Linked DNA regions of Homo sapiens: regions 1, 2, 3, 5 and 6 are each linked to region 4. Evidence: promoter capture Hi-C in 16 types of primary human blood cells and fetal thymus (Javierre and others, 2016). All regions are on one chromosome and are shown on one strand. Each heading gives the region's core, a stretch centred on a gene start or on the middle of the fragment in contact. The rest is flanking DNA. Distances are from core to core; before and after follow the strand shown.

Region 1 (3,519 bases), core at 926-3,425, 190 kb before region 4:
CAACCTTGGTGTAACTGTAGAGTTAGCTGCATTTTGTGAAATGCTTTTTCCGCCTGAAGATAAACACATTCCCCCCTACCCATTCTATTAAATGTGGTGTGGTTGATTTTCATATGTTGAACCAACATTGGACTTCTGGGATAAATCCCAGAAGTTCATGATGTGTAATCATTTTCATTAGCTCCTTTATTTATATTAATTTTGGTAGAAATTGCCTAGCCATAGGTGCCAGGGGCTTCAAATTCCTCTAGTATCCTTGCTTTCATCTCCACTTGTAACTGAATTTCCCCAAATGGTCCTCCTCGGGGACAGTCTGTGGCTCTGTCTGCTATAACCCAGCGCTGTTGCACTGCGGCTCTGCTGGGATGGTGGCAGAGGGGGTGCATTCTATAATCTTCCAGTTAAATCTGTCAGTACTCGTGTGTCCAAGGGCTGGGACCTACTCAAGTGTTCTCCAGTGGTATAACTTTGCCTCCTTGCCCTGCCCTCCCTCTCCTGCTTGCAGGATTCCAATCTACTGGAATCCTCAAAGTGTTGAGCCATGTTGACAGTTTCCTCTCCCTTAGGTGAGACAGGAAGGATAGAGAGAATGGGGAATGTCCTTCCTCCAGCTAGCATAAGACTCTGGCAAGCTTTTTTTCCCTAGAGTGTCGGCTTTTATGGAGAAGACTCTGGGTGTATTTCACAATGATTCCCCTTCTTCTGCCACAGCCCTCAGGGGATATTTCTCAGATCATGACCTTGGGAATCTGCTGGGATTCCTGGAGCTAATGGCAGTGGCGGTATGCGGGACCCGTTATGACTATGGACCCAGAAGTTCCACATTCTCAGTTTAGTCCATATTCAACCTCCAGCAATTCATCAAAATTACCTGTTAGTTTTCCGACCAGTTTTGGCTCCAGTGGGCTCCAAGTAAACAGATCTCAGCTGTGTCTCTGGATACACCCGTCTCTCCAGATTTCACAGTTGTGACTTCAGTTCTCAGAAAGATAAAAGTCACTGCTTTTCAGCTTGACTAGCTTTTTCTTATAAGGATAGGGGTGACTACTTCCAAGCCGTTTGCATGTTGTAGTTGAAACTGGGGGTTCCAACAAATTTCTGAGTGCTAGAGAATGAAAGAGAGAATTGAAGAATGAAGAATAGAAGAATATCGAATGACAACAGAATCACAAAAGTCCTTTAACTGCTCAGTTTAAACAGTTTAAATGCCGAGGAAGGGAACAATTTCATGATGACTTCAGTGTCAATAGGATGGCTATCAGAGGTTGTCTGTGTAGCATCATGCAGAAACGCAGAATATGGATAGGACACCTTCTACAGCCTACTTCAGGCTTTGCTTTAATTTTGAATAACAATTGTTTGCACTTCTGGCGGGGCGCGGTGGCTCACTCCTGTAATCCCAGCACTTTGGGAGGCTGAGGCGGGTGGATCATGAGGTCAGGAGTTCGAGACCAGTCTGGCCAACATGGTGAAACCCCATCTCCACTAAAAATACAAAAAAAAAAAAAAAAAAAAAAAAAAAATTAGCCGGGCATGGTGGCAGGTGCCTGTAATCCCAGCTACTTGGGTGGCTGAGGCATGAAAATCGCTTGAACCCGGGAGGCGGAGGTTGCAGTGAGCCGAGATCTTACCATTACACTCCAGGCCAGGCGACAATGCGAGACCCCGTCTCAAAAAAAAAAAAAAAAATTGTTTGCACTTCTACACATCTACATAAATTTGTATTTGTATTATATCAACCAAAGGAATACAATTTGACTTATTAACTCAATTTAGTTTCTGCAAAAAGCTTCAATTTCCCAGGTCTCATCTAGAAGGGATAAGATAGCTTTATAAGCACAGGTTTTCAAAAGAAAAACATTGCAGAGGCAAAAAAAAAAAAAAAAAAAAAAAAAAAAAAATTCTCATTGTGATTATTTGCATCTGGGGTTATACTGTAAAAAGAGACATTTTAGATCTTTTATATAGTCTCTAATAGTAAACAGAAAGATTACATTTTTATTACTGCAGATTTTATCCTGGCACTTGAAAATTCGTTTGCAATTTTGGAAGCAGGAAATACTTTTGGTGTGTTTCCATTGGTCATTTGAGCTGAAAAGATTGAGTGTGGAAAGTCATTACAATTTCTGCTATGGTTGTTTTATTTTTATCTGAATTTCCTTTCATCGGAAAATTTGTTACTTTATCCGTTTCTTTAGCACTATTTGAGGAAATCATCTATCACTTAGGCTTAGCTGTTAGTATATCCTGCCTTATATCTGACTTTCCAATATGTTCAATACTGAATGAACAATTGTGTACTGTAGAAAGAGCTTCAAAACATCTTTTCTCTGATACCAAATATTTTAAAAATTAATCATGAAACTTATACTTGCATTTTGATTCAAATATACATAAATGAAAATAGGCAATAGGGTAGATCTCATATTAAGTATCCTTAACACAAAATATAAAATAAAAAATAAGTTAATAACAATAATTGAAAATACTAATTTCGATCATCTCACTCACAAGAGTGAAGCATAATTACCAATAAATTGAGGCTGAGCTATTGAAAGGTTGGAAGCTTACAAACTAACAATAAACTTGAACTTGATATGTGACACAGAAAAGTCGAACTTGATGCATGCCTGCAAGGGAGAACTGTGTTTGCAGTAACAGGATCCCTGAAGAAAGCCAGAGCTGATCTTATCCAAAATTTTAAGCAGCTCAGTGTCTGGGACTGGCGAATTTTCAGAGGCAGGGATGTTTATGGACTGTTAGATTTTCAAGCGTGTTAGTGTGGTCACTGGAATTAGACGGTTGTCGACTGGCTAACTTCCAGAAGCACGGTCACTGGAAGGAGGGACTTGCTGACCAACCGTGGTCTAGAAGCAGCACTCAAGTGGCATTCAGAAGCTGGAGGCTGTCAGGAAGTTGATTTCAGAAGCATGGCTGCTGGCAGCGAGGCCATCATTGATTTTTCAGACCACGTGTACTGATCCAAAGATCTAATTATTGGGGATTATTTTACAACTTAGGAATTTGGCCAAAAGAACAGTCTTTTCCTTTCTTTAATACGGAAAACAAGTACTTTTATTCTCACTTCCCCCTTTTGCCTTCCCTCAGTCAAACACATAGGATAAAACATAAGAGATGGTTCAGATCTTTATTTGTGGAGGTATGATTTCCAACTTGTATTGCCACTTAAGCGATTTAAGCGCCAATTACTGAAGCAGAACCGTAGCTCAAAGTGCTGATTTTTCATTAATGAGGGGAGAAACCCTGAATACATTTAAGGCATCCTAACAAAGTTAATACAGGATTCAGGACAAAATCATTAAATACAGGACGTTTGGCAACCCTACCTGTGAGTCAGCTTTCTCCTCACTTGCCACTCTCACCTATTTGCCTATGAAAACCATGCCTTATTTATTCTAATACATGATTATCTGTCTCCTGTTCTCCATCAATGCTGTCCCTGTTTGAGTTGGAACCCTCATTTACCTATTACTTGAATTTAAACAGCCCAGATTTCCT
Region 2 (3,233 bases), core at 599-3,098, 240 kb before region 4:
TTAAGGAATATAATAAGTCATTGAACATCCTCTAATGTAGAGTCATAAAAGCCTTACAAATTCCATCTATTCTTTTTCAAGGTACTTAAAGGAAACGAGTTCTATAGAAGCCAATACTCAGCCTTAGGACAATTGCTACAAATTATTAAACTCATGTTATGAAAGTGGGTGCAAGACATGAGTGAATGAATGGGTTACAGAACAATGGAAGTAAATCAAACACATAAATCACACTTCCAGCCGGGCGGTGGCTCACGCCTGTAATCCTAGCACTTTGGGAGGCTGAGGTGGGTGGCTCACACCTATAATCCCATCACTTTGGGAGGCTGAGGTGGGTGGATCACTTGAGGTCAGGAGTTTGAGAGCAGCCTGTCCAACATGGTGAAACCCCGTCTCTGCTACAAATACAAAAAACTAGCCAGGCGTGGTGGTATGCGCCTGTAATCCTAGCTACTCGGGAGGCTGAGGCAAGAGAATCGCTTGAACCCGGAAGGCGGAGGTTGCAGTGAGCCAAGATTGTACCACTGCACTCCACCCTGGGCAACAGAGTGAGACTCCATCTTAGAAAAAATAAATAAATAAAAGTAAATCACACTTCCACTCAGTTTCTCAGCCATGCAGGGTACACCTGCTTACTGTATCTTTCCCAAGAGCCATATAATTATGAAAAGAATAAGACTTTCCCTTTTATTATTTTAAAGACGGAGTATAAAAAGTATTTGTTCCTTTAAGACCACTTTATTGAGGTATGATTGACATATAAAGAGCTGTACATATTTAATGTATCCAACTCGATGAATTTAGGCATAAGTATACCCCTGTGAAACCATCACCACCACCAAGGCCATAGACATGCCCATCACTTTCCCAAGCTTCCTCCCACCCCCTTTTTTATTATCATTATTATTTTGTGGTAAGAGCACTTAATAGAAGATCTGCCCTCTTAGCGAATTTTAAGTATCCAAGACAGTATTGTTAGCTATAGGCACTATGCTGTAGTAGGTCTCTAGAATTTATTTATCTTGCATAACTAAAATTTTGTACCTTTGACCATCACTTTCCATTTCTCCTCCTCCAGCCCTTGGCAACCACCGTCCTGCTCTCTACTTCTATGAGTTCGACCATTTCAAGTTCCTCATCACACTGAAACCAGGCAGTATTTGTCTTTCTGTATGTGGCCTATTTCGGTTAGCATGATGTCCTCCAGGCTCAGCCAAATTGTCACAAGTGGCAGAATGTCACTTCTGTTTTTATGACTGAACCCCATTCCATTGCATATACATACCATGCTTCTTCATCCATTCCTCCGTCGATGGACATGTCGGTTGTTTCCATATCTTGGCTATTGTGAATAACACTGCAGCGAGCATGGGAGGGCAGTGTCTCTTTGAGATCCTGATTTCAGTTCCTTTGGATAAATACCCAAAATTAGGATTGCTGGATCATATGATCGTTCTATTTTTAATTGTTTGAGTAACCTCCACACCGTTTTCCATAATAGCTGTACCAATTTACATTCACGCCAATAATGTATCAGAGTTTCTGTTTTCCCACATATTCGCCAACACTTATCTTTTCTTTTTTTTTTGAGACAGAGTTTTGCCCTTGTTGCCCAGGCTGGAGTGCAATGGTGCAATCTCGGCTCACGACGACCTCCACCTCCCGGGTTCAAGCGATTCTCCTGCCTCAGCCTCCTGAGTAGCTGGGATTACAGGCATGCACCACCATGCCTGGCTAATTTGTATTTTCAGTAGAGACAGGGTTTCTCCATGTTGGTCAGGCTGGTCTCGAACTCCTGACCTCAGGTGATCCGTCCACCTCGGCCTCCCAAAGTTCCGAGATTACAGGCGTGAGCCACTGCGCCCGGCCATTTCGTTTTTAATATAATAGCCATCCTCCCAATGAGGTGATCTCTGATTATGATTTTTTTTTTTTTTTGAGACGGAGTCTTGCTCCTGTTACCCAGGCTGGAGTGCAATGGCGCAATCTCGGCTCACTGCAACCTGCACCTCCCAGGTTCCAGCGATTCTCCTGCCTCAGCCTCCCAAGTAGCTGGGGTTACAGGCATGCGCCACCACGCCCAGCTAATTTTTGTGTTTTTAGTAGAGACAGGCTTTCACCATGTTGGCCAGGCTGGTCTCAATCTCCTGACCTCAAGTAATCTGCCCGCCTCGACCTCCCAAAGCCCTGGGATTACAGACGTGAGCCACCACACCCAGCCAGTACCCATTTTTAAATTGGGTTATTTGGAGGTTTCTTTGCTAGTGAACTGTTTGAGTTCCTTGTATATTGTGGTTGTTAACCTTTTATCAGGTATGTGGGTTGCAGACAGTTTCTCCCATTCTGTAGGTTTTCTTTTCAATTGTTTCCTTTGCTCTGCAGACCTTTTAGTTTGATATAATCCCACTTGTTTATTTTTACTTTTGTTGTCTGTGCTTTTGTTGTCATGTCCAAACAATTATCACCAAGACCAATGTCAAGGAGCTTTTCCTCTACGTTTTCTTCTAGAAGTTTTACAGTTTCAGGTCTTACGTTTAAATCCTTCATACATTTTTAGTTGATTTTTGTGTATGATGTAAGAAAGGAGTTCAGTCTCATTCTTTTGCCTGTGGATATCCAGTTTTCCACACCATTTATTGAAGAGACCATCCTTCCTCTGTTTTATTTTCTTGGTGCCTTGTTGAAGGTAAGTTGACCATGTGTATGGGGAAGAGCATTATTCCTGGCTTCTCTACTCGGCACCATTGGTCTAGGTGTCCATTTTTAGGCTAGTACCATACCGTTTTGATTACTACAGCTAAAGTAGTAGCTTTCTTCACCGAAAGGAAGCTTAACAGTATTATTCATAAACCGTAAAATTTTAGTTTACTAGGGTAGAATCTTTCAAAAATGGCATATGGGAAAGTATAAACGGATGGGTTTCTCACTAAGAGAAACTCTGAGCCCAATTTAGGACCATGAACAGATTAATTTCTGTTTATACTAAACAAAGTGTTATGTAGAGAATCTCTTCAATCTAATACTGTTTCTTATGCTAAAATATAGCTGTCTTTTTTTTAAAAACTATTTAGTTTAGAAGCCATTTCAATTTATACATTTCCCATACTTCTGTTCTTCCAAAAGATAAACACATACAAACACCTCGTGGTTTCTTTTGAAATTCCTTCCATGAGAAAGGTGAGCAGGAAGAAACGGACAACAGCTACAAGCCTGTCATACTCTTGTTGGATTAA
Region 3 (3,372 bases), core at 268-2,767, 200 kb after region 4:
AAGTCTTCTGCTAGGAATATTTGATCTCTCTTACATGTTATTTGCTTCTTTTCTCTAGCTACTTTTAGAATCCCCTCTCTATGTTGGACCTTTGAGAGTTTATATGTCTTGGAGAATTCTTATTTGGGTTGAATCTGATTGCTAACCTTTGGTCTTCCTGTACCTGGATATTTGTATCTTTCTCCAAGTTTGGAAAGTTTTCTATTATTATTTCTTTAAATAAGCTTTCTACCTATATTTCTTCCTCAGTTCCCTCTTTAAGTCCAATAATCTGAATATTTGCTGGTTTGATGTTGTCTTATAGATCCCCTAAGCTTTCTTTATTCCTTTTCATTATGTTTTCTTTCTCTCTTCCATGTATTTTCAAATAGTCTGTCTTTGAGCTCACTGATTCTTTCCTATGTTTGATCAGTTCTGCTGTTGATGTTCTCTATTGAAATTTTCATAGTATTTTTCAACTCCAGGATTTCACTATTTTTTTCTTTTTTGAGATGGAGTCTTGCTCTGTTGCCCAGGCTGGAATCCAATGGCATGATCTTGGTTCATTGCAACCTGCACCTCCTGAGTTGAAGCGATTCTCCTGCCTCTGCCGCCTGAGTAGCTGGGATTATAGGTGTGCGCCACCATGCCTGGCTAATATTCATGTATTTAGTAGAGACAGAGTTTCACCATGTTATCCACGTTGGTCTTGAACTCCTGACCGCAAGTGATCCACCAGCCTTGGCCTCCCAAAGTGCTGGGATTTCAGGCATGAGCCACTGTGCCTGGCTGATTTCACATTTAAAAAAATTTTTGTTTTAATCTTTCTGTTAAATTTGCTGGTACATTTCTGAATTAATCCTATGTGTTTTCCTAAAGTTTGTTGAGCTATTTAGAACAGCTATTTGGAATTCTTTTTTTTTTTTTTTTTTTTGAGACAAGAGTCTCACCTCTGTCACCCAGGCTGGAGTGCATGGAGTATAGTGGGGCTATCTCGGCTCACTGCAGCCCCCGCCTCCTGGGTTCAAGTGATTCTTCTGCCTCAGCCTCCCGAGTAGCTGGGACTACAGACGTGCACCACCACACCCGGCCAATTTTTGTATTTTTAGTAGAGATGGGGTTTCACCATGTTGGCTAGGATGGTCTCGATCTCCTGACCTCGTGATCTGCCCACCTCGGCCTCCCAAAGTACTGGGGTTACAGGTGTGAGCCACTGCGCCCAGCCTGGAATTCTTCATCTGAGACATTAAACATCTCCGTCACTTTGGTCTGCCTCTGGCACCTTGTTTTCTCTGTTTGGTTAGGTCATATTTCCTTGAATGTTTTTGAGCTTGTGGATGTGCAACAATGTCTGTGCATTTAGGGACTGAAGATTTATTTTAGTCTTCACAGTCTGGCCTCATTTGTGCCTGCCTTTCTTCAGAGGGCCTTCCAGGGATTCTAAGCCCACTATTGAGTTCCCTGAGCCTGTGACCACTGTACCCATCTCAGCACTGGAAGATGCTCTATGCCCAGGCTTGCTGTGAGTCTCATGAGGACTTTGAGGTTTTGAGTCCCAGATGGACCTGGGGAAGACCCAAGGAATGGATATACTGGGGCTGTGTGGGAATGCTAGCCAGGGACCTGGGTCTAGAAGACTGTACTGTAGGCTCAGATGGGTGTGCCTCCTCGCAGATCTGAGTCTAGAAGACTGTACCGTAGGCTCAGATGGGTGTGACTCCTAGCAGGTCTTTGCATAGGTGGAATGGGTTCCTTACTGCAGCAAGAGGAGCTGGAGTTGAGACTGGGTCCCCTTGGAATCTGCTGTGGGACAAAGGCTGGAGAGCCCATTATGTTGGCCCAGATAGGTGAGCATCTCCCAGCAGATCTTGGAACAGATGAGATAGTTCTCTGATTGCAGTGGGAGGGGCTGGAGCTGAGACTGGTTCCCCTCAGGATCTGTTGTGGGATAAGATTGGCAAGCCTGTCAGGGAGGCTCAGACTCCTGGGATTGAGGTATGAGTGAGTCTCCCTCTGGGTTCTTGTGTGAGCAACTCTGAGCTAGGACCTACATGGGAGTGATGGGGACTGGAGCTGAGCCACAAGGCAACTTTGAGGTTTACTTCTAAGATGGAGGTGACGAGGCAGATGCCTTTCCACCAAGGCACTAGGGTACACAATTCCTTCTGGATCCTTTAACAGATGGTTTTGGTTGCAGGTTCAAAGTCAAACAGTACGGTAGCCAAAGCCCCTTGGGGGACTGGGCCATTTCTGGGCTTGAACCCAGGAACAAGATTGGTGGATCAGCCAACTGGTGTTAGTCTGCACTCTCAAAATAATCCTCCAAGATCTTGGGCTCCACCAATATTTCACAAACTCCTATCTGAATCCTGAGGCAGAGAGACTTTTGATTCTGGATAGGCGCAGAATTCTTGTTGTTGTGGGGAGATGTGAGCAGGTTACCTTCTATTCTGCCATCTTGGTGACCAGAATTTTCTAATTTTCAATGTTTTTTTGACCTGTGATTTATTTAGAGGTATGATTTTTAAATTTCAAAAATATATTTTAGCTAAATTTTAAAATATTGATTTCTAATTTAATTTTGTAGTTAAGTTACATTAAGTAAAAAATCATTTCAATTTATTATTATTCTTTAATTGTCCAATATGTTGTCAGTTGTCATAAATATTTTGTATGTGTTTGAAAAGAATGTGAGTTGTTCAATTGTTGGAGGCTCAGAGATATATGTGTTTTCCTTAGATCAAGCTTGTTTGTTGTATTATTCAAATTATATATTATTATTTTTTCTGCTGAGCTATCAATTACTGAGAGACATGTTAAACTTTTTCCCTAGGATGGAGGCTTTGTCAATTTCTCCTTGAGGTTATGACAACTTTTGATATATTAACCAGGTTAATTGAACTTTGATATCTTTATAATATTTATTTCATGACCCTTGTCTATCCAGTAATTTTTTTTTGCCTGAAAATCAAAAGCCCTGTATATACAGAATTATGGTGATATATATTAGAAACACTGTAGTTTAAATTGCTTTAGAAATAAGGAAGAAACTGCCACATTTGGGAACTTTGCTAGGAATTTAAATGCCTATTCTCTTTCACCACTAAAACTTTGTGTTACGGGTTTGTCACACATTATTGGAAATGGCACTTAGTCTAATTCCAATTGTTAGAAATAGACAATTTTATATTAAAAGTTGAAATATAGGTTCCAGAAATTTCTGATTTGATAATTTAGGCCAAATATCCTGCTGAAAACAGCTAAAAAGGCAAACGGCTGAGCAAGAAAAAAAAAATGGCTGAAAGGTGAGGAGGGGATTGGAATTCAGAGAGGCGAGCCATAGCCACTAGAAAACTTAAACAATCATATGAACCAACTTGACCTAACTGACAC
Region 4 (3,224 bases), core at 372-2,871:
TGAGACCCCTAAGACAAAAGACAAATTAACAAGAGCAAAACATACAAGTTTCTTTAATACAAGTTTTACATGACACAGCAGCCTACATAAGGAAATGAAGTCCCAAAGAAACAGTTAAAGTTGTGTATTTTTATGCTAAATTTGATGAAGTCACAGAGAAATATAAATGGACAAAGAGGATATGATCTAATAGTAATACACTGGGGGCAACTTAGCAAGGCCTGTTTGTTCAAGAGTTTTCTCTGTGACTGTGTGTCTTCAGCAATAAAGATGTTACTTTCCTCCAGGTATAGGGAGTGCAAATCTCACATGAGAATCTTACGACCTGCTTCAGGGGACGTTAGGAAATTCTTCCTAGGTTTTACAACCTGCTTCGTGGGAGATGTGTGGAAAAGTCCTTCCTGTTTCTGCTGTTTTCTCAAATGATGAGGTGCCATATTTTGGCAGTGAGTGTGTGTGTCCTGAACTATATCAGTACGTGTTAGGAGGGAACAAAATTAGATGTGTTGTACCCAATCTGCCTTCTTTTCTTCTTTACTGTATGCTTTGAAGGCTGCAAAATTTCCTCTAAATATTCCCTTTACCTAAATCTTTTCTAAAAAGTTTCTAGTCTTTTAAAAAATGTTTAGCTTAATTACATTGTCAAAGAATATGGTCTTGTGTGATACCAATTGCTTGAAATGTGTTGAGGCTACTTTACAGACTAGTATGAGATCATTTCTTAAGTAAATATATGCTTTTCCATGTGTTTTCTTCAGTTTTGGGGTGGAGTAGTCTACATGTCTATTCATTAACATAAAACTAATTTTGCTTTTCAAATATTTCATATCTATAGTGACCTTTTTGTCAGCTTTTCTATTAGTTACTGAGAAGGTAGGTTAAAAACTCTGAGGCCAGGGTGGTGGCTGACGCCTATAATCCCAGCATTTTGGGAGGCCAAGGCAGGAGCGTTGCTTGAGCCCAGAAGTTTGAGACCAGCTTGGGCAACAGAGTAAGATCCCATCTGTACAAAAAAGAAAGAAAACAAAATTAAAAATGGGTTCTGCCCATGTTTGCTTTATGTATTTTGTATCTTATGTTATTAAATACATAAAAGTTTAAAATATTTTATTTGCTGGTAAATTAATGCCTTTTTTTTTTTTTTAAGACACTCTCTTGCTCTTGTCACCCAGGCTGGAGTGAGGTGGCGCAATATCGGCTCACTGCAACCTCTGCCTCTCAGGTTCAAGTGATTTTCTTGTCTCAGCCTCCCGAGTAGCTGGGACTACAGGTGCCCGCCACCACGCCTGGCTAATTTTTTTTGTATTTTTAGTAGAGACAGGGTTTCACCATGTTAGCCAGGCTGGTCTTGAATTCCTGACCTCAGGTGATTCACCCACCCGCCTCCCAAAGTGCTGAGATTGCAGGCCTGGCCAGAGAGACGACTTTAGCCGGGGTAAGGGGCCGCCTGGGAACCCCGCGTCCCGCCTGGACACACCGATGACCTGCAGAGGCCACACCGTGGGCCACCTCAGCTGGCCACTGGCACAGCCTTGCCCTCTGGGGCCCCGTTCTCGCACACGCCGACGGCCTGGCCGCACTGCAGCCCCGCAGCCTTGTGGGAAATGTAGTCTGGCGCTCCGGGCTGTAAGCGCCGGTCGCGGCTGTGTCGGTCGCCGCTGCTCCCGCTCCTGCTGGGAGAGGGTGAGTGCGGGGCCGGTGGCGGGGGCGCGCGCCATCCGTGAGTCTTGTAGGCCCCCGCAGGAGGAGCTCCGGATTGCGGGGCGAGGCCCCAGCTTCCTGAGGGTTGAGGGGCGGGCCCGCAGCAGATGGGCCGGGGGTGCGGCCTCACTGCGCCTGTGGAGCGCCGGGCCTCCGGCTCCAGGTGCGCTCCCTCTTCCCCAGGAGCTGGCGGCGGGAGCACGCTGGCAGCTGAGTGTCCTTCGGCGCTGTCCTGGGCAGGCGCCGAGGTGGAATCACAGCCCCGGAGCAGCGGGGATGGGGGCTCGAACAAGGGCCACGCCGGCCACCACGGGTCAGGGAGGGGCCCAAGGTTCCAAGAGTCGCTCGGACCCGGGTTCCTCCCTGGCTTTCCCCAGCCGCGCGCAGCTTTGTCCCGGGACACGCTGCGACCGTGGAGCGAACCTAACCCGCGGACATCCCGGGGATTCTGGGCCAGAGGCTGGGTCTCCCTGTGCAGCATCTGCCCTTTGTGTAAACCGGGTCTCCGGACCCGCCCTCTGGATCTCATTCCGAGAGCGCTGGCGTGGGCTCCCCTCCCATCTCACAATAAGAATGGGGAGGCCAACCTGGTGCAGGTTTCGACCTCGGGGAATCTTTTCTTTTTTTCCTTAAGCGATTTCACTGTAGCACAACTGGAAAATTGAGATTAAAACAATCATTCAAAATCTATCTCCATCTGCATGGCAGCGTGGATATGTGTATAAGCATAGAAACACTTTGTACTTTGTTTTTAAACAGAAATATGAATATTAGCAGCTTTTTCTCCATCTATCTTTTAAAACTGAGTCATGAGATGCATTTGGTAAGGGGTTTGAAGTGCACAAATCTTAAGCCTTGTAATTTTTTACTGGCCTAAACACCCAATGAAGATAGAGAATACATCTGAAAAAAACATTGGAATATGTTGACACCATCTACTTATACCAGATTTTAAATAGAGCTACGTCATTTTAATGAGTGTGAGGGAAAGTATGGATGTGTCGTATTGAATCCTCTCCTTAGGTTTTTGTGTTAGGGTTTTCTTTTTTCTTTTTTTTTTTCAGTATTATAAACAGTATAGGCCATCTGGCTACATACATCTTTGCATTTTGTCTTATTCTATAAATCTCTTAAAGTGAAATTTCTAGGTCCAGGGTACAGTAAGGATTTTGATACCTCCTGTCTTATTCCCTCCAGAAAAGTTGCAGTTTATATAAACACTTGCAGTGTAAGAGTGCCAGATTTACCCACACCAACTGTGAATGTTAGTATTCTCTTGAACTTCTGAGAGGTGCAAAAGATAGGATTGTTTACATTTGCATTTTGAACACTAATGAATATTTTCACGCAGTTTGCATTTTGTATTTTAATTTTGTATCTGATACATAAGCATGTTTCCTGACTGTGCAGAAACGTCACAGGTTCTTATGGTCACACATGAAAACCTTTTCTTCACGTTTGGGTGTTTGACATCACTGGCAGAGAAGCTGTCTGTCCCACGAGATTACAAAAATGTTTGTAGT
Region 5 (3,588 bases), core at 837-3,336, 180 kb after region 4:
CTCTTTGTGATAAAATAAAAAGAGGAAAATAAAAAGAAAGGTAATATGAAAAAAATTGTTATTCTTCCAATCACCAGGGACAGATTGTTGCACAGGGGTGATTTACTCCATGTTTTCCTCTTTTTTATAATGAGCATCTTAAACTTCGATCACATAGAATCATCACAGTCATGCTGCAGGGCTGTTGTGATTTTCAAAACCTGAATGTCCCCCCACTCCTTTTTTTTTTTTTTTTTTTGAGATGAGTCTCTGTCACCCAGGCCGGAGTGCAGTGGTGTGATCACAGCTCACTGCACTCTCCACCTCCCAGGCTCAAGCGATCCTTTCACCTTAGCCTCCTCAGTAGCTGGGACCACAGGTACATGCCACCACGCCTAGCTAATTTTTTGTATTTTTGGTAGAGACGGGGTTTCACCATGTTCTCCAGGCTGGTCTCAAACTCCTGAGCTCAGGTGATCCACCTGCCTCCCAAAGTGCTGGGATTACAGGTGTGAGCCACCGCGCCCGGCCTGTCTTCTCTTTAACAGACTGTTTCCCCCTTCACAGACTACAATATAAAATCACAGTCACATGAAGTAAAGAAATTTAAGAAAACCAATCCAAATATTTAAAAGATTATCGGGCATAGAGTTTCAGAGAGAGCATGGGGAGAAAACGTAATGAAAGGGACATGTGAGTAAGAAGGAGAAGGTGGACAGGCTGCCTACTTCATTGCCTGGTATATGCATAGTGGAAAATGATGACAGAGTGGAGTATCCCATGGTATTCAGCGTGGGCTTATCATTTGGCATTTTTCTGTATCCTCATATCTTCTACTCAGCCTGTTCTTCTGCATCTAACTTTACTATATCCAGGTGGAATCGCTTCATTTTCATTGTTAATTTGTCCAGTGTATTCTCCCATGCCATTCCTTAACCTGTTTACCTCACTTTCCTTTATCCCATCCTGTTCTTCCCAAGATTCAAGTCAGCATTTGAAATCTGATTGTATCACTCTTCTTTCATATATACTGTTACCAGTTTTTTTGTCTCACCGATACATCAGTTTGTTTCTTCCAGCAGAGGAGGCATTAATTCTTCTGATTCATTTTAGGTTTCAAGACTTGGCTTGAAACAGAAGCATTGCCTCATAGACAGGACATTTTTATAGAAGAAACATCTCAGGGAATGGTAAAGAAAGAATCCATTAAGGATGGTCACTGGGACATTAACTTTGAAGAAGCTGTGGAATTTGAGAGCGAGATAGAAGAAGAGCAAGAGAAGAAACCTCTTAGACAAATGATAGATTCGCATGAGAAAACCATCAGTGAAGATGGAAACCATACAAGTCTTGAATTGGGGAAAAGCTTATTTACAAATACAGCTCTTGTCACACAACAGAGTGTTCCTATAGAAAGGATACCCAATATGTATTATACATTTGGGAAAGATTTTAAACAGAATTTTGATCTCATGAAATGCTTCCAGATTTACCCAGGAGGAAAACCTCACATCTGTAATGAATGTGGGAAGAGCTTCAAGCAGAATCTGCATCTTATTGAACATCAGAGAATTCATACAGGTGAGAAACCCTACAAATGTAATGAGTGTGAAAAAACCTTCAGCCACAGATCATCCCTTCTTTCTCATCAGAGAATTCATACTGGAGAGAAACCTTACAAGTGTAATGAATGTGAGAAGGCATTTAGCAACAGTTCAACCCTTATCAAACATCTGAGAGTGCATACTGGAGAGAAACCGTATCGATGTAGGGAATGTGGTAAAGCCTTTAGCCAGTGTTCAACCCTCACTGTACATCAGAGAATTCATACTGGAGAGAAACTCTATAAATGCGGCGAATGTGAGAAGGCCTTCAACTGTAGAGCAAAACTTCACAGGCATCAAAGAATCCATACAGGTGAGAAACCCTATAAATGTAGTGAGTGTGGGAAGGGATACAGCCAGTTTACATCTCTAGCTGAACATCAGAGGTTTCATACTGGAGAACAACTGTATACATGCTTGGAATGTGGGAGAACCTTCACACGTATTGTAACCCTTATCGAACATCAGCGAATTCACACTGGACAAAAACCTTATCAGTGCAACGAATGTGAGAAAGCCTTCAACCAGTATTCATCCTTTAATGAACATCGGAAAATTCATACTGGGGAAAAACTTTATACATGTGAGGAATGTGGGAAAGCCTTTGGTTGCAAATCTAACCTTTATAGGCATCAGAGAATTCATACTGGAGAGAAACCGTATCAGTGTAATCAGTGTGGAAAGGCCTTCAGCCAGTATTCATTTTTAACCGAACATGAGAGGATCCACACTGGAGAGAAACTGTATAAATGTATGGAATGTGGGAAAGCCTACAGTTACAGATCAAACCTTTGTAGACACAAAAAAGTTCACACGAAAGAGAAACTCTATAAGTGGAAGGAATATGGGAAACCTTTCATCTGCAGCTCCTCACTTACCCAGTATCAGAGATTTTTTAAAGGAGATAAAGCCTATGAGGTTTAGTTCATCTCTCAAATAATCCAAGACTTCTCACTGGGGAATAAGGGAATAATAAATAGGGTACAAACTCCTAATAGATTTGTCTTTTTTACTTCTCCTGAAGGAAATATGTTAGTTGCCACTAAGTCATGATAAAATTGATCAGTGAGACTATGAAGAGCACTGACTTGTTAAATTTTAAAAGAACCATAAATTCTAAGGTATCTAAAAACCTATGAGTATTTAATTCATAGAAAAAATGTAAAAGGTCTTTTTAAAAATCATGAAAAATAGTTGAATATACATTTTGTTTCTCTCATAAGACCATATTCCCTTTAAAAGAGTAAGCTTCAATATGTGAATTTTCTTTTAAAAACAGTCACTGAGTTAATAATGTAAATAAGTGTGTGGCCTTCTTTAAAATAGCTGGCTAACATAGGAGGCACTTCTTTTCATAAAGAGAAGCTAAACATAAAAAGGAATTTTAAATTTAACTCTTCACATGGAAATAATAAAGCTCTTTATATGAGCTGTCCCACCAGCAACTTATATATGTAAACATACATATATACACATATGCATGTGTGTGTGTAAACATAAAAGTCCTTTATTATTAAAAAATGTAGTTTTATTGATTTAGAATTTAGTTCTTAAAATCTTGCCCAAAGGTAGACTCTCTTTCTTTTACTTTCTTCCATTATTTCTTAAATTGATGTGGTTTTATATAACTGAACAGAGTACTATTACAGTACCGTAGAAGGCGGATTAACTGAAGCAGCTGGAAAGACTGTCAAGCACATACTTTGTTATCTGTTGCAGAAGGGATGTATTTGGCAGAATCTCAGGCTGCATGTCTGGTAGCTCATTAGAGCCAGGAGAGATTTTAGTTTAATTATAGCCTTTCATTGTACTAACGAAGGATTTGAACTTAGTGAACAGAGTCAAGACTAGAATCTAGGTCTTTGGTTCTGGTGTTTTGTGATCATTATAGGCTCGTTTCCAACCTGAGGTCCCAAGAGTACTATTTGTTTTGTAGCCTGGTTAGACATAGTTGCAGTAATTTAAAGTTACTGTGTTATCTTTAAGGGCTTCCTCTCACCTTAAT
Region 6 (3,254 bases), core at 367-2,866, 140 kb after region 4:
CAAGTTATTTTTTAAAACAAGATCTGTCAAAACTTGAAGTAACAGATAGATCAAGTTTTATGGAAAGTCTCCCAGAGGAGATAATGTAATAGCACAATTTTGCTAATATAACCCAGTGCCAAAGCCAGGTAAAGCACAAGAAATGAATATTATAGGCCAATATTACCTATGAACAAGAGGTGAAATCCCAAGCAAATCATTAGCAAACGTAATCCAGAGCACCTAAGCATAGTTAATAACATGATAAAAGTTCATTTATAGAAAGCCTACTGAAAAAGAATGGTAAGATGTTAGAAGCATTAATGACAAGAAATACCGAGAAAGAATAAACTGTAGCTGGGCACAGTAGCTCACGCCTGTAATCCCACCACTTTGGGAGACTAAGGTGGGTGGATCACCTTAGGTCAGGAATTCGAGGCCAGACTGGTCAACATGGCGAAACTCTGTCTCTACTAAAACTACAAAAATTAGCCGGGTGTGGTGGCACATGCCTGTAATCACAGCTACTGAGGAGGCTGAGGCAAGATAATTGCTTGACCCCAAGGAGGCAGAGGTTGCACTGAGCCGAGATCATGCCACTGCACTGCAGCCTGGGTGACAGGACTGTCTCAAAAAACAAAAAGAATGAACTGTTCAAAATTGGCTCTGAGACAGAAATGATTCACAGAAAAAAAATTAGATCCCTACCCTCACCATAACAATTATATGAAAAGCAAAAACTGAATAACTTGGAGGAATATGTAAAGGAATAATTTTATGTTCTTGAGATTGGGAAAGATTTCTTAAACAGGCTACAAATTAGCTATATAAAATTTTTGATTTATTTGCTCACATGAAAGAACTTCTTACCAAAGTATACAAAAACGGAGGTGAAAAAAGTCAAGACACAAAATCGATCTTTCTACAGTATGCCCAACAAAACTACTATAATCCAGAAATACTAATTTGTACAAATCAATAATAACACTAGGAAAATGGGCTAAATACATGACTTCTTATTTCACAGAAAAGAAAATACAAATTTCCAGAAACACGAAAAGGTAACTAACTTCATTAGTAGTTAAAATGCAAATTAAGGCCACGGTAATGTATGATTTTACAACCACAAATGAGGAAAAATTAGGATGTGTGACAATACTGAGCTTCAGGATGTATGTGGAATAAGAAATTCAGTAGTAGTGGGAATATAAGTCAGAGATGACTGACATAAAGCTGAACTTGTGCGTGTTGTGGACATCTGCATAGATGCACTGGAGAAATGATTGCATGTGGGCATCAAGGGATGTATAAAGATATTCTTAGCAGCACTGATCATCACACCAAATGATTGTAAGTAGTCTGAATGTCCATTAATTAGGAGAATGGATATATTTTGGAATATTAACACAGTAGAAACAGCAGTGAAAAGGAATAAAGTGAAGCAAAACATGGATGAAGCTGGCATGGTGGAGCACATCTGTAGTCCCAGCTACTCTGCTGAGGCAGGAGGATCACTGTTGCCCAGGTGTCCAAGACCAACCTGGGCAACATAGCAAGACAATGTCTCTAAAACAAAAAAACGGATAGATTGAAAAACACATTTTTGAGTTTTTAAAAGTCATTGGCAAACTACATAGGGTATGATACAATTTTTTTGCAAAATTATATGTTAAAAGGTATATACTGGCCGGGCGCAGTGGCTCACGCCTGTAATCCCAGCACTTTGGGAGGCTGAGGCAGGCAGATCACGAGGTCAGGAGATCAGGGCCATCCTAGCTAACATGGTGAAACCCCATCTCTACTAAAAATACAAAAAATTAGCTGGGTGTGGTGGCACATGCCTGTAGTCTCAGCTACTCGGGAGGCTGAGGCAGGAGAATCACTTGATCAGGAGGCAGAGGCTGCAGTGAGCCAAGATCGTGCCACTACATTCCAGCCTGGGTGACAGAACAAGACTCTTCCTCAAAAAAAAAAAAAAAAAAAAAAAAAAAGATATGTACATGTTTTAAAGATATTTAAATAACATCAAATGATTGAGAATATATTGTAGTTATCCATTGCTGTAGGACGAATCGCCCCAAATGTAGTGTTGGACAACAATGTATTGTCTGTCATGAGCCCATGTTGGGGCTTAGCTGGGAGGTTCTTACTTGCTGTCTAGTAGCTGTGCCATCAGAGCGGCTGGGGCTGAAGCTAAACTGGGCTTCAGGATGGCTGGCAGTTGCTGGTAACTGCTGGGTGAGAGCTGGCTTGGGCTACTCCATGTGGCTTGGGCTACTCCATGTGGCTTGGGCTTCTTACAGAATGGGGGTTGATTTCTGAGAGGGAGTGTCCCAAGAGCAAGTATTCCAAGAGAGCTAGGTAGAAGTTGCAGATCTTAAAAGCCAGCTTTAATTCTGTATACAATTGATTGAGAATGAGTCAAATTTGGCCCGTATTCAAGAGTAGTTTAATAAACTGAATGCCAAGGGCATGGTTCACTGGGGAACTGTGTATGGAGACTAGCTACCACATACATAAAGGACAGGGACTTTACAAAACTCTGGTGTGAGGCAAGGAGATGATGACTTGGGGAGAAGCACAGAGTCTTCCTCTACTTGCTTGGTGCTTGAGAGAGACTCCGTCTTCAGGAAGAGGCTGCTCCAGCCAGCCAGAGCCATTGGGTATGTCAGTAAAAAGAACTTTAAGAGAATTTGTCCAACTCAATCCTGGTGAGTTGAGGAGGAATAAAACAGAGATCCTGAAACCTGATCACCCAGGGTGATGTGAACATGAAGGTTAATATGGAATGAGCTTAAAGGTTGTACCTAACAGCCCTGCCACCATCAGAGCCTTCTTCAGGCCACTGCTCAACAGGAATGTGTCTCATTAACAAAGCTATCAACACTTTTCTCACCTGTCTATAATCTTCCCTTCTCATTCATCTCCCTAGATCTCCAGATAAAGAGAACATTGGTTCCTAACCAAAGTAAGGAAGTGCCCGGTAAATTATGTGTACCTTAAGATAAATAGGAAGAGAAAGAATTAACAATCATCTTTAAGTTGTCAACACATTTTCTTTGCCCAAGTTCTCTTGTTAAGACTCAACACTTCTCAACAGACTTGTTCAGAATCTAGGCAAAAAGAAAAATGTCCATTTTCATGGCTTCCTAACAGGTCGTTTCAAAGCAACCTGAAAAATGCAGAATATGTTTTAACTTTTATAATATGGTTGACATGCCTGATGTACTGTATTCAAAGAAATTACTTAAAATGCCCTTCTTTTCATGTGGTTT

What was found. Contacts are between HindIII fragments. The CHiCAGO score rates a contact against its expected background, and 5 or more counts as called.
Region 1: a contact is called between a fragment that was not itself captured here and the fragment with the promoter of ZFP2 in region 4, in 2 of 17 cell types (M1 macrophages and erythroblasts). The highest score is 7.0, in M1 macrophages.
Region 2: a contact is called between a fragment that was not itself captured here and the fragment with the promoter of ZFP2 in region 4, in 2 of 17 cell types (megakaryocytes and erythroblasts). The highest score is 5.5, in megakaryocytes.
Region 3: a fragment that was not itself captured here is called in contact with the fragment with the promoter of ZFP2 in region 4 in 11 of 17 cell types (M1 macrophages, erythroblasts, non-activated CD4 T cells and 8 more); the score reaches 9.3 in M1 macrophages.
Region 5: a fragment that was not itself captured here is called in contact with the fragment with the promoter of ZFP2 in region 4 in 12 of 17 cell types (M1 macrophages, M0 macrophages, erythroblasts and 9 more); the score reaches 12.0 in M1 macrophages.
Region 6: a contact is called between a fragment that was not itself captured here and the fragment with the promoter of ZFP2 in region 4, in 1 of 17 cell types (non-activated CD4 T cells). The highest score is 5.3, in non-activated CD4 T cells.

Annotation. Positions count from the first base shown.
Region 1 is chr5:178,706,068-178,709,586 of GRCh38, forward strand. It overlaps a transcript of MSANTD5 not described here. Among named protein-coding and RNA genes, the nearest start is that of MSANTD5, 10 kb to the left of the region's middle. The HindIII fragment of the contact is 777 bases long and covers 1,788-2,564 here.
Region 2 is chr5:178,651,840-178,655,072 of GRCh38, forward strand. No RefSeq gene overlaps it. Among named protein-coding and RNA genes, the nearest start is that of CLK4, 26 kb to the left of the region's middle. The HindIII fragment of the contact is 1,957 bases long and covers 871-2,827 here.
Region 3 is chr5:179,094,755-179,098,126 of GRCh38, forward strand. No RefSeq gene overlaps it. Among named protein-coding and RNA genes, the nearest start is that of ZNF354C, 36 kb to the left of the region's middle. The HindIII fragment of the contact is 2,410 bases long and covers 313-2,722 here.
Region 4 is chr5:178,894,292-178,897,515 of GRCh38, forward strand. It overlaps ZFP2 (ZFP2 zinc finger protein), which reads left to right and starts at 1,622. Exons shown (of 5, transcript NM_030613.4): 1 at 1,622-1,683. RefSeq lists an enhancer at 1,335-1,524 and silencers at 1,635-1,744, 1,815-1,864. The HindIII fragment of the contact is 12,652 bases long and covers 1-3,224 here.
Region 5 is chr5:179,077,591-179,081,178 of GRCh38, forward strand. ZNF354C (zinc finger protein 354C) reads left to right here. Exons shown (of 5, transcript NM_014594.3): 5 at 1,093-3,588. The coding sequence ends at 2,507. Among named protein-coding and RNA genes, the nearest start is that of ZNF354C, 19 kb to the left of the region's middle. The HindIII fragment of the contact is 1,486 bases long and covers 1,344-2,829 here.
Region 6 is chr5:179,035,504-179,038,757 of GRCh38, forward strand. No RefSeq gene overlaps it. Among named protein-coding and RNA genes, the nearest start is that of ZNF879, 13 kb to the left of the region's middle. The HindIII fragment of the contact is 6,608 bases long and covers 1-3,254 here.